Linked DNA regions of Homo sapiens: all the other regions are linked to region 2. The links are contacts of gene promoters, found by promoter capture Hi-C in blood cells and fetal thymus (Javierre and others, 2016). All regions are on one chromosome and are shown on one strand. The core of a region is centred on a gene start or on the middle of the fragment in contact, and the rest is flanking DNA. Distances in the headings are between cores, read along the strand shown. Region 1 overlaps NXF1 (nuclear RNA export factor 1). Region 2 holds the start of EML3 (EMAP like 3). Region 3 overlaps SCGB1A1 (secretoglobin family 1A member 1).

Evidence for each region. Contacts are between HindIII fragments. The CHiCAGO score rates a contact against its expected background, and 5 or more counts as called.
Region 1: a contact is called between a fragment that was not itself captured here and the fragment with the promoter of EML3 in region 2, in 1 of 17 cell types (naive B cells). The highest score is 5.3, in naive B cells.
Region 3: a fragment that was not itself captured here is called in contact with the fragment with the promoter of EML3 in region 2 in 2 of 17 cell types (naive B cells and total B cells); the score reaches 6.7 in naive B cells.

Annotation. Positions count from the first base shown.
Region 1 is chr11:62,792,386-62,796,261 of GRCh38, reverse strand. NXF1 (nuclear RNA export factor 1) reads left to right here. Exons shown (of 21, transcript NM_006362.5): 16 at 81-196; 17 at 319-361; 18 at 1,255-1,327; 19 at 1,822-2,004; 20 at 3,561-3,621; 21 at 3,748-3,876. The coding sequence ends at 3,786. It overlaps MIR6514 (microRNA 6514), which reads left to right and starts at 3,491; the gene lies at 3,491-3,560. The HindIII fragment of the contact is 4,027 bases long and covers 1-3,876 here.
Region 2 is chr11:62,611,426-62,615,378 of GRCh38, reverse strand. EML3 (EMAP like 3) reads left to right here and starts at 2,604. Exons shown (of 22, transcript NM_153265.3): 1 at 2,604-2,943; 2 at 3,783-3,953. The coding sequence starts at 2,922. It overlaps ROM1 (retinal outer segment membrane protein 1), which reads right to left and starts at 2,122. Exons shown (of 3, transcript NM_000327.4): 1 at 1,508-2,122; 2 at 875-1,121; 3 at 263-758. The coding sequence starts at 2,097. The coding sequence ends at 540. It overlaps B3GAT3 (beta-1,3-glucuronyltransferase 3), which reads left to right. Exons shown (of 5, transcript NM_012200.4): 5 at 1-83. RefSeq lists enhancers at 2,128-2,187, 2,961-3,520, 3,521-3,953 and a silencer at 2,238-3,117. The HindIII fragment of the contact is 22,044 bases long and covers 1-3,953 here.
Region 3 is chr11:62,420,030-62,423,854 of GRCh38, reverse strand. It overlaps SCGB1A1 (secretoglobin family 1A member 1), which reads right to left. Exons shown (of 3, transcript NM_003357.5): 2 at 1,447-1,634; 3 at 660-796. The coding sequence ends at 764. The region is part of intron 1 of LOC102723765 (a long non-coding RNA gene); the gene reads left to right. Among named protein-coding and RNA genes, the nearest start is that of SCGB1A1, 2.9 kb to the right of the region's middle. The HindIII fragment of the contact is 3,769 bases long and covers 104-3,825 here.

The DNA of each region.
Region 1 (3,876 bases), core at 729-3,228, 180 kb before region 2:
TGGGAAAAGGGCATGGGAAGGAATCAGTCAGAACTCAGGAGTGTGTGGCAGCACCACTGAGCTTTCTCCTCTACCCACAGCCTTGCGGTTCCGGCTGCTGAAGCACACGCGTCTCAACGTTGTTGCCTTCCTCAATGAGTTGCCCAAAACCCAGCACGACGTCAATTCCTTCGTGGTAGACATAAGCGCCCAGACAGTAAGCTCCTGCTTGCGCCTGACAGAAGCCTAGAATTGGGGTGGGGGTGGCATTTAATAGGCAAGGGGGGGCACTCAGGCTCTGAGAAGTGTACATTGTACCTGATGCTGCTTCTCTTTCAGAGCACATTGCTGTGTTTTTCTGTCAATGGAGTCTTCAAGGAAGGTAAGAATCTTTAGAGTCCCGAGTTTGTAGCGTGGTCCCACCCCCAGCTGGAATTTTCCTCAGCACTCTTAGCTTCCCAGCTACTTTCTCTCCCATTTTCTTTTTGAGCTCCTTCTCCCATTCTGCCCCCAAGCCGTCTTGGCTTGGCCTACCTCTCCACCTGTCCTGTCTGGATGTGGGAAAAGCCTGGGGATTAGGAGGACTTTGGAGTCAGGCAGTTCTTAGTTTCCATCCTAGTTTTGGTTGTGCGGGGCTGTGGACAAGTAACATTACCTCTAAGACAGATTCTTTATTTGTAAGATGGGGTTAGTAATAGCCGTCTCATAGTGGTGCTATAGGAAGTAAACTGAAGTGACTTACAAAGTGCTTGGCCTGGGGCCTGGCATACAGATGCTATCAGTGGATTAGTAGTTATTACTTTTTTTTGAGATGGAGTCACACTCTATCACCAGGCTGGAGTGCAGTGGCGCAATCTTGGCTCACTGCAACCTCCGTCTCCTGGGTTCAAGTGGTTCTCCTGCTTCAGCCTCCCGAGTAGCTGGGACTACAGGTGCGCACTACCACGCCCAGCTAATTTTTGTATTTTTAGTAGAGAAGGGGTTTCGCCATGTTGGACAGGATGGTCTCGATCTCTTGACCTCGTGATCTGCCCACCTCAGCCTCCCAAAGTGCTGGGATTATACGCATGAGACACTGTGCCCGGCCGTAGTTATTACTATTGTCCTTTCTGACCTGACCCTTCACCCCACCTGTGCTTCCCTTATACCCTTATATACTTAATCATTCCTCTCTGACTTGCTAGGATTCTTTATATCAAAGACCATGATTCAAGAAGCTGTTTGTAAACATAAAGCACTAGTGACCCTAAGGTGTTGTTGCTGTTCTTATTGCAGTGGACGGAAAGTCCCGGGATTCTTTGCGAGCCTTCACCCGGACATTCATTGCTGTTCCTGCTAGCAATTCAGGGTAAGTATTCTGCTTTTCGCATTGGATACCAGTCCTAATCCATGGCCAACAGTGTGGTAATTGGAGGGTAGAGTCAGTCTTTGGGGTGATTTCAGAAAGGCAACAGGAAATCAGAGAAAGCTCACATAGTAGTTAAGAGCCAGTTAATAGCTTGGCTCTGGAATTGTACCGTCTGGGTTTTCATCCTGGCTCCACCACTTCTAGCAAGTAGGCTGCTGCCTCATCTGAAAATTCATATAACAATATTCATTTCCTAAGTTTGTTGTGAGGATGAATTAAAAGAGCTAAAGTCCATGCGTTGGGAGAACCCTAGTGTGTTTAGTAGATAATCCTTCCAAACATTGATTCCATGGGAGGGGATAAATGATAAAAGGTAACAATAGCTAAGAGTGGGAGGGGGACCTTGTGGATATTGAAAGAATCAGAGAATAGGAATGATGTTGGGAGGATGATGTTATCTCTGTCTAGCTTTTTAAGTGCTCTTTGTCCTCAAGGCTATGTATTGTAAATGATGAGCTATTTGTGCGGAATGCCAGTTCTGAAGAGATCCAAAGAGCCTTCGCTATGCCTGCACCCACGCCTTCCTCCAGCCCGGTGCCCACCCTCTCTCCAGAGCAGCAGGAAATGTTGCAAGCATTCTCTACCCAGTCTGGCATGAACCTCGAGTGGTCCCAGAAGTGAGTGCGGGGCATGTGTAGGATGGGGATGCACTGAAGTAGGGCTAGTAGTAAATAATGAGGGCTCCTGACAGTTTTTTTGTTTTTTTTTTGGAGACAAGTTCTTGCGCTGTCATCCAGGCTGGAGTATAGTGGTGATCATAACTCACTGTAGCCTCTAATTCCTGGGCACAAGCTGTCCTCCCACCTCAGCCTCCAGAGTAGCTGGGCCTATAGGCATGTGCCACCTTATTTTATTTTATTATTTTTTTTTTTTGGAGGTGGAGTCTTGCTATGTTGCCCAGGCTGGAGTGCAGTGGTGCGATCTTGGCTCATTGTAACCTCTGCCTCCCGGGTTCAAGCAATTCTCCAATCTCAGCCTCCCGAGTAGCTGGGATTACAGGCACACACCACCATGCCTGGCTAATTTTTGTATTTTTTTTTTTTTTTTTTTTTTTTAGTAGAGACGGGCTTTCATCATGTTGGCCAGGCTGGTCTCGAACTCCTGACCTTGTGATCTGCCTACCTCGGCCTCCCAAAGTGCTGGGATTACAGGCATGAGGCACTGCACCCAGCCAAATTTTTATTTGCTTGTTTGTTTTGAGACAGGGTCTCACTCTGATGCCCAGGCTGGAGTACAGTGGTGTGATCACAGTTCACTGCAGCCTCAACTGCTAGGGCTCAGGTGATTCTCCCACCTCAGCCACCTGAGTAGCTGGGACTACAGGCATAGGCCACAGCACCTGGCTAATTTTTTTGTATTTCTTTGCAGAGATGGGGTTTCACCATGTTGCCCACCTAGGCCTCCCAAAGTGCTGCGGTTATAGGTGTGAGTTACTGTGCCTGGGCTCCTGAAATTTTAAAAGGCAAAACTTTTGGCTGCTTAAAAAAACCTAATAGTTGGCTGGGAGAGGTGGCTCACACCTGTAATCCCAGCACTTTGGGAGGCTGAGGCGGCCAGATCACGAGGTCAAGAGATCAAGACCATCCTGGACAACATGGTGAAATCTCGTCTCTACTAAAAATACAAAAATTAGCGGGGCTTGGCGTTCCACGCCTGTAGTCCCAACTACTCGGGAGGCTGAGGCAGGAGAATTGCTTGAACCTGGAAGGCGGAGGTTGCAGTGAGCCGAGATCACGCCACTGCACTCCAGCCTGGTGACAGAGCAAGACTCGGTCTCAAAAAAAAAAAAAAAGCAAACAGAAAAACACAAACCTGATAGTCTATAAAAAATTTGCCTGTGTATAAATTAACATAAAAAACTTTAAAGGTAAAATGGAAGTTCCTTTTCATATACTGTTCTGCAACTTAGTTTCTTTACTTACACCATGAACATCTTTCCCTACCACTGTAAAAACTATCTTGAGCTTCTTGACAGCTATTTAATATTCCTTATCTTTGAGAAGCCATTGGTAGAACATCTGGACTTTTACTAATGTCTCATTTGTATAAATAGTGCAAGGATGTATAAGAATGTACATATTTGTTGGCAAACTTGGGTGCTTTTATGGAGTGGACTTTCAGCTGGCATTTACGAGTCAGAGTTCTTACAGAGCTGCCTGTTCTTCCACTCCAGGTGCCTTCAGGACAACAACTGGGACTACACCAGATCTGCCCAGGCCTTCACTCATCTCAAGGTAAGGTCTGGAAATACAGTGGCAAAAAGACTAGGATCTCTGGGCCTCCAGGAGGTCAGGTTAGCTGAGTGGGGTTGCTGAGTGGCGAGGGTAGGCCTACCTCTACTGACCTTCATTTTTCTCCAGGCCAAGGGCGAGATCCCAGAAGTGGCATTCATGAAGTGATCGTAGTCATGCCTCAGAAGCAGTCCCCCCTGTAAATAGTCCTTGGATATTACCGTCTGGTTGTCGTCTGTCATCTCCTCCTGTCTGGCC
Region 2 (3,953 bases), core at 1,355-3,854:
GGCTGGAGGAGCTGGGCTGGACCCTTCCCACCTGAGCATGCTGACCCCCTTCCTACCTCCAGAATAAAGAATCTCAACCTGGAGGGGCCTCTTGTTTTCCTTTGCTTCTTACATTGGGTTCTTGCTTTCTGATCCTTACAGATGTGGGCTCCTGTTGCTGCACAGGTCGAGCCAGGGTCCAAACTTTGGAGTCCTAGCTGCTCCATCAGACAGAAATCAGTTCTCCCAGGCCCCCATCCCCTTGACAAGAAAAAGCAATTGCTTCCATCCAAAAACTTTATTGAGTCTATATCAGAATCAGCCTCCAGGCCTTCTCATGTCACTTTCCCATCACTCTGTTCTTTGCTGTTCCCTGGTGGTTCTGACTACAAGGGCTAGGCCCTAGGACATCTGGTTTTCTTTCTTACCCCAGTCCAGCTCGCTGACTATCCTTAGCCCCTCTAATCCTACGATCCCCCCAACCTGGAGCCTTGGTAAGGAGTTGTGAGGTTTTCAGACTTGTCCATCCCTCCCTCTTCCTCACCCCAAGCTCCAGGCCTCTAGGCCTCAGATAGATCCTCCTTGGGAGGTGCTTCTCCTGGTGGGGCCTCCTCAGGTGCTGGCCTGCAGGCAACCCCTCCCTGTAGCCATGCTGTTTTCAGCATATCTTTCAGCCCACTGGGAAAGAGATAGCCCTGGGTCTCTCCTCCCGCATCAATGACCCCTCCAAGCCCCTCCAGTGCTGTTTGCAGGTACCGCAGGCCAAGGAGCACCAGAGCCTGTGGGGGAAGCAAGGGGAAAGAGTCAGGGAGAGTCAGCGGTTCCAAGAGGCCCAGGGTTGGAGGCAGGGAGGAGTCCCGGGTGGGAGGAGGTGTCAGATGCTTTGCTGACTCACCTGCAGTAGGAAGGTGACAGCCAGCATGCTACCCAGTGTGCCTGCCAAGTCCTGCAAGTGCTCCAGCAGCACCTCATGGCACCCTTGGGCCCAGAGGTTTTGGTTGGGTTGTCGGGGATCGAACAGGGGGTGGGCGTAGGAGTCTGAAAGACGGTTTTGCAGGCAAGGCCGGGGTGAGTGGGGGTTGCAACAGGAGAAAGGGACCCCATCAGTCAGGTATAGGCCTTCTACATTGCTCTGGATCCGGCTGCAAAGGGAGGGACAGAGGGGTTAGGATGTCTGGAGATAGAGGCCTGGGGGAGGGACTGAAGGGCACAGGTGTTCAGAAGGGAAAAAGAATAGTAAAACATTTACTGACTGCTGTACTATGTGCCAGCCAAGCATAATTCACATCTTCACAACAACTCTATCAGATAAGTACTATTATTTCCATTTTACAGGTGAAGGAATGGGCCCAGGGTGGTTTGGTAACATGCCCTGGGTTTCACAGCTAATAAATGGCAGAGCTGTAACCAGTCTCTCAGCCACTATGTTCTACTTATTGCCCCTCTGAGCGAGGTGGGGATTCAAGGCAGCAGGAGGGAGCCTGTCCAGGGAGGAGGAGGAGGAGGAAGGGAGACGCAAATCACTCACTCAGCCACATCCCGGTCACCGGGATCCAGGTAACGGCTGCTGACCCACTGGACCCCAAACCAATCCTTGTACCCGTGGCGCCCGCAGCAGTGGTACCTCAGTTGCAGCTCATCCACCAGCCTTTTGGCCTGACAGTGCCCAGGCACCTCTGTGTCCTTGTAGTGAGCCAAGGCAGTCACCAGGCCCTCCTCCAGCGCCTCATCCAGACTCCCAGGCAAAGCCAGGGCTAGCCCGAGGCCGACGACCAGGAGCCCCCCCCCACCAGCCGTGCCAGCCACCAGCAGCGGGCCCAGGACCCCTCGCCAGGGAGGGTATAGAGCTGCATTCAGACTTGCCCGGCTGGCTCCTACACCCACTAGTCCTGTGCCCAGAGCCACCGCGCCCGCTGCCAGGGCAGCCTGGGGCAGGACAGGGAACTGACAGGAGGGAGCCAGGAAGGTGCCAAGGTGCCTTAGCTGGACCAGGAGGTGCCCACTACAGAGGAGGATGACGCCACCAGCCAGCGCCAGCAGCCAGGAGAGGAGCCAGAGCCCTTGTGCCAGGCGGATGCGGGGCTGCAGGGGCAGCACCAGGGGCAACACCGGCGCCATCTCCCATCTCTGCCCAAGGGAATGCAGAGGTGTCAGGGATGGAAGCTGGCTGGGGCAGGATGCTGAGTCAGCCCGGCCCGGCTTGAGCTGGGCTAATGCCACCCTGACCCCAATACCCTGAGCATCCTCCCATCCTCAGCCCTAATAACCCGCCCCCCTGTCAGCCCCAATACAAGATGCCTTGGCCTTGCCCCTTACGAGAAACTCCGCCCCTAGGCCGAGGGCCCGTTTTGTGACCCCGCCCCTGCCCCTCGCGGAAGTGGTGGGGTTGGTCCGCTCAACCCTGAGGGGTTAGGGGCTGGGGGGCGGAGATATCGGGGCGGGCGCTCCCTTCCCCGTCCCCTGGGAATCCGGGGGCGGGGATCCGGGAAGGGCCTGGAGCCGGAGGCCGGGAGTAGGCCAGGGGGTCAGCCGGCTAGCCCCGCCCCCGTACTGAGCGGCGAGGCCCGGACAGGGAGGGGTTACCAAGCGGCCCGGCCCCCCCTCGGGCCCGCCCCCCCTCCCGCGCTTCCTGGCGGCTCCGCGTCCGGCGCCTGTTTGTGCTGCGGCGCTGTGGCACCGGACGGCCCTGCCACCCCACCCCCGGGAGCCGAGAGCGGCCCCGGGAGAGTCCGAGGGCCCGGGGGGGTCTGGAGACTGCGGCCCCGGGCCCACAGCGCCCCCTCCAGGCCCCTTCCCCGCGCCCGACAGCGCCCCCTCGGGGTGGTGGTACGGCGCCCTTCGCGCGCGCCCCGGGGTGCTTCCCCTTCCCCTCTCCCCGGCCGTGGCCCCCGCGGCTTAGACGCCTCCTCCGCCGCCGCCGCTCGGAGCAACCCGGGGGCCGGATGGACGGGGCCGCGGGGCCCGGTGAGTACGGGGCGGGGCGGGCGGCGTGCCCCTTCCCGGAGCGCCCGGCTCGTCGGGTTATGCCAGAGCTGGACGGCTGTCTGGAGGCGTCCCCGCGTGCTCCTCCGCCCCAGGGGCTCCGAGCATCCTCCACAGTTCCTCCGGTCGCCCTCCCTAGTTGCTTGGGTCTTGCTGTCACTTCGGGCTTCCCCAGCGTCATTCTACGCCCCACGTAACTCCGGGCCCCTCGATGTTTCCCTGCCCCCTGCGTTACTCCGGGCCTCTTCTCGTGGTATTTCAGGTCTTTTTCCTTCTGATCCCCACTGCCCCCTGAGACCTTCACTGTGACTCTGCTCACCACTCACACTCTCTCCTGTCACTCTGGATCTCTTTTCTTGTACTCTGGGTCCTCAGTATGACTCCATTCCCGCACCCCGTTCTCTCTCCTGGTGTTCCCCCGGCTCAGTTACTCAGCTTTCGCTGGAGACCTGAGCTTGCTGGGGGCGCGTGGGGAGGGCTGCGGTCCCTGCCCTCACCAGTGCGGCGCCTCTCTCTGTGGCTCCCACGTTCCTCGGCAGTACTCCATATTTCCCCCCCGGTACTCCATGGTACTCCCAGTCTTTGCGGAGGCTGAGACGGCAGCAGGAAGGGAGCTTTGCCAGGTTTCTCGCCTGCCCTGCCAGAAGGAGGCCCTTGATCCTTTACCACCGTCTCCTCCCCTCTGGACGAGCATTCAAGCCTGGGGCTGCCTGAAAGGGGCAGTCCTACCGGACACATGTAAAGTTGTGGGGAGACAGAATCCCCTCTACGCTTTCTTCAGGTGATGGGTACATTCTGAGTACCTCTTGCCCTTTTCCCAGGTGACGGCCCTGCTCGGGAGGCCCTCCAGTCTCTGAGCCAGCGGCTTCGGGTGCAGGAGCAGGAGATGGAACTGGTAAAGGCAGCCCTGGCAGAAGCCCTTCGCCTGCTGCGGCTGCAGGTGCCCCCTTCCTCCCTGCAGGGCTCTGGCACACCAGCTCCTCCGGGGGACA
Region 3 (3,825 bases), core at 739-3,238, 190 kb after region 2:
CAGAATGAAGGAGCCGTGGGAAGGAGGAGCACAGGAAAGACTGGTGAGGGGCCACTATCTATCGTCAGGATTTAGGATTTTACAATAAGAGCCCTAGAAAGCTTTGAAGGATGGGGAGGGACTTTGCACTTGAGAAGAATTCCTTTGGGTTGTTGGAGAAGGGATTGTGGGGGCCCTGGAGTCTGGCTGGGAGCCAGAGAGGAGGCCCCGGGGGCTGTACAGGCAGGGATGGGGGTGTTGCCTGTGGACTTGGAGTGAAGGATTCCAGAGGCCCTTTAGAGGTAGCCTGGGTTGGCTAGAGAAGGAAGGATCGCGGATGCTCCTCAGGCTGGTGCAGCCCAGCGGGGAGGATGGAGCCAGAACTCACTGAGATAGGAACAGACTGGGGCAGGATCACTGGTTCTGTTGGACAAGTGGAGTCTGTGATGTTGAGTAGAGTCTGTGATGTTGAGTAGATGGTCTGATATAAGGGGAGGGGGCTTGAGCTCTGTTGGAGGCAGAAACCTAGAGGAAAAGAGCTTTGGAAGAGCACAGAGATTTCTGCTGGGATCCAAGGGCAGAGCTCGGCTGCTTTCCTTTTGTCCTGGCTCACCTTACCCTGACAGGGGCAGACCCCCCACCATAACAAGGAGACCAAAACCACGCAGGGGGCACAAAAGTGAGATGCTTGTGGTTTATTGAAGAGAGCAAGGCTGGTGGGCGTGGACTCAAAGCATGGCAGCGGCAGAGGCTGGAGCAGTTGGGGATCTTCAGCTTCTAAATGCTAATTACACAGTGAGCTTTGGGCTATTTTTTCCTAAAACAAATAGACAAAGAAACAGAAAAACCCAATACAACAGTGAATGAATTGCATAGTTAGGCAGAGATGACGAGCCACAGAAACTTCAACATTAACCGAGAGGTGCAGTCAACTCTAGGAGGAACTAAGGTAGTAAGGGCTTGGATTGTTTCTCAAAAGCCTCTTACAAAATAGTAAGGGGAGGCTGGGCGTGGTGGCTCACGCCTGTAATGCCAGCACTTTGGGAGGCTGAGGCGGGTGGATCACCTGAGGTCAGGAGTTCGAGACCAGCCTGGCAAACACGGTGAAACCCCATCTCTACAAAAATACAGAAATTAGCTCGGCATGATGGTGGGTGCCTGTAATCCCAGCTACTCAAGAGGCTGAGGCCGGAGAATCGCTTGAACCTGGGAGGTGGAGGTTGCAGTAAGCCAAGATCGTGCTATTGCACCCTAGTCTGGGCGACAGAGCGAGACTCTGTCTCAAAAAAAAAAAAAAAAAAAAAGGAAGAGGAGATGTCTAGAAAGATCACTGTGCTGCCTGCCTGGGGACAGTGGCACTGTGACTCTCCTCTCTGGATTAGAAACAGGTCTGAAAACTGGGGCAATCCTGCAGCCCCACTTGGGGAAGCCACTTCTAACCAGTGTGACGTGAAAGGTGCTGGTTACCATGAGCTTAATGATGCTTTCTCTGGGCTTTTGGGGGAGGGTGTCCACCAGCTTCTTCAGCTGAGCCCCTGCCTCCCTCATGTCTTGATCAGGGCTGAAAAGTTCCATGGCAGCCTCATAACTGGAGGGTGTGTCCATGAGGAGGGTTTCGATGACACGCTGAAAGCTCGGGCAGATCTCTGCAGAAGCTGCAACACAGAGGAGAGAAGGCACATGTCTCCAGGCCCCTTTCCAAGCTGGCTAGCCCTCTGGCTGGGTCTGCCCAGATGCAAACAGCCAGGCCCATCAGCGAGAGATAGCAGCCTTTTCATCGATGGACTAGAGTGTAAGATTTGTGGATTGCCCGAGTCTTCCTTAGACTTCTTGGGTTGAGGTGAGCAAGGTGCCGTTTTTCTTTCTGTTGGAGATCAAGGCAGAGTATTGATCATAGAAGCTGCTGGCCTGATTTTTTAATGCAGTGTGGAGGCTGGGAAGAGGCCACTGAGGGTTTTATTTCCCACCAGAAACTTGCCTCTCATCAGTGGTTAGAGATGCCCTGAGCCATGCTTCACTGGGGGCATGTGACAAATTCAGGCTCTGGCAGGAAAAAGCGATTGTAAGCCAGGCACGGTGGCTCACACCTGTAATCCCAGCACTTTGGGAGGCCGAGGCAGGCAGATCACGAGGTCAGGAGTTCGAGACCAGCCTGGCCAACATGGTGAAACCCCGTCTCTACTAAAAATACAAAAAATTAGCCGGGCGTGGTTCTGGGCACCCGTAATCCTAGCTACTCAGGAGGCTGAGGCAGGAGAATCACTTGAATCCAGGAAGCAGAAGTTGCAGTGAGCTGAGATCTCGTCACTGCACTCCAGCCTGGGCAACAGAGCGAGATTCTGTCTCAAAAAGCAAGCAAGCAAGCAAGCAAGCAAGCAAGCAAGAGAAAAGAAAAAGAAGAAAAGAAAAGAAAAGAAAAGAAGCCATTGAGATTGTACCAGCCAAACATGGGCCCCCGAACCTGGCCGGGAAGAGGTGTGCACATGTGCACAGCGGGCCCTGTGGCACACTCAGCTCATGGACAGAGCAGCCACTTGTACCACTTCATTCCCTTCAACACAGAGCTTCCAGACTCTGTTTTCTTCTCAGGTCCTTACAACCAGGAACATGGGGGAAAGTCACCATTTTCTACCCACTGCTTGCCTCCATCTTCCCAGTGAGTCTCAAATCCCTTTTCCTTGAATTCTCTGCCTTCTGAACAAATTTGCCTTCCCTCCTCTGACTCTAGGGCCTCACTAGAAATTGCCACTCCAAGTCAGACCCTCTCCAGAACTTAGGTCCTTGATGTGTAACTTACTGTGTCACCAGGCAAGTCACTCTGTGTTTCTGTAGCTCAGTTTTCTCATCTGTAAAATGGGAACAATATCCCTACTTCATTTTATTTTTTATTTTTTAAATTTTAATTTAATTTAAATTTTATTTTTATTTATTTATTTGTTTTCAGACGGAGTCTCGCTCTATTGCCCAGGCTGGAGTGCAGTGATGCCATCTCGGCTGACTGCAACCTCTGCCTCCCAGGTTCAAGTGATTCTCCTGCCTCGGCCTCCCAAGTAGCTGGGACTACAGGCATGCGCCACCATGCCTGGCTAATTTTTGTATTTTTAATAGAGACAAGGTTTCACCATGTTGGCCAGGTTGGTCCTGAACTCCTGACCTCAAGTGATCTACCCACCTCGGCCTCCCAAATTGCTGGGATTACAGGCGTGAGCCACCGTGCCTGGCCCAATATCCCTACTTCATAGGGTTGTTGTAAGAATAAAAAGAGAGGCCAGGCATGGTGGCTCACGCCTAATCCCAGCACTTTGGGAGGCCTAGGTGGGTGGATCACGAGGTCAAGAGATGGAGACCATCCTGGCCAACATGGTGAAACCCTGTCTCTACTAAAAATACAAAAATTAGCTGGGTGCAGTGGTGCGTGCCTGTAATCCCACCTACTTGGGAGGCTGAGGCAGGAGAATCGCTTGAACCCGGGAGGCGGAGGTTGCAGTGAGCTGAGATCGCGCCACTGCACTCCAGCCTGGCAACAGAGCGAGACTCTGTCTCAAAAAAAAAAAAAAAAAAGAATGAAAAGAGATATTATGTGAAAGGGTGACAGTGATTGGCACATTGTGTGAAGTAAGTGTTAAATATTGTATGCATGTGCACACAAATAGACAAATGCATCTCTGACCCACCCCTTAACATGTTGCAGTCCTATCTTGCTCAGCCACCCACCTCTGTACGCAGACAGCACTGAGATCTTCTAATTAATACACATTTCAGTCCAAAATGATGTCATTTTCTCTGAAAAACAAATAAACCTCTCTGCAAAATAGTTGTTCCTACTGCTTCTTGGTTTGGGTTTTC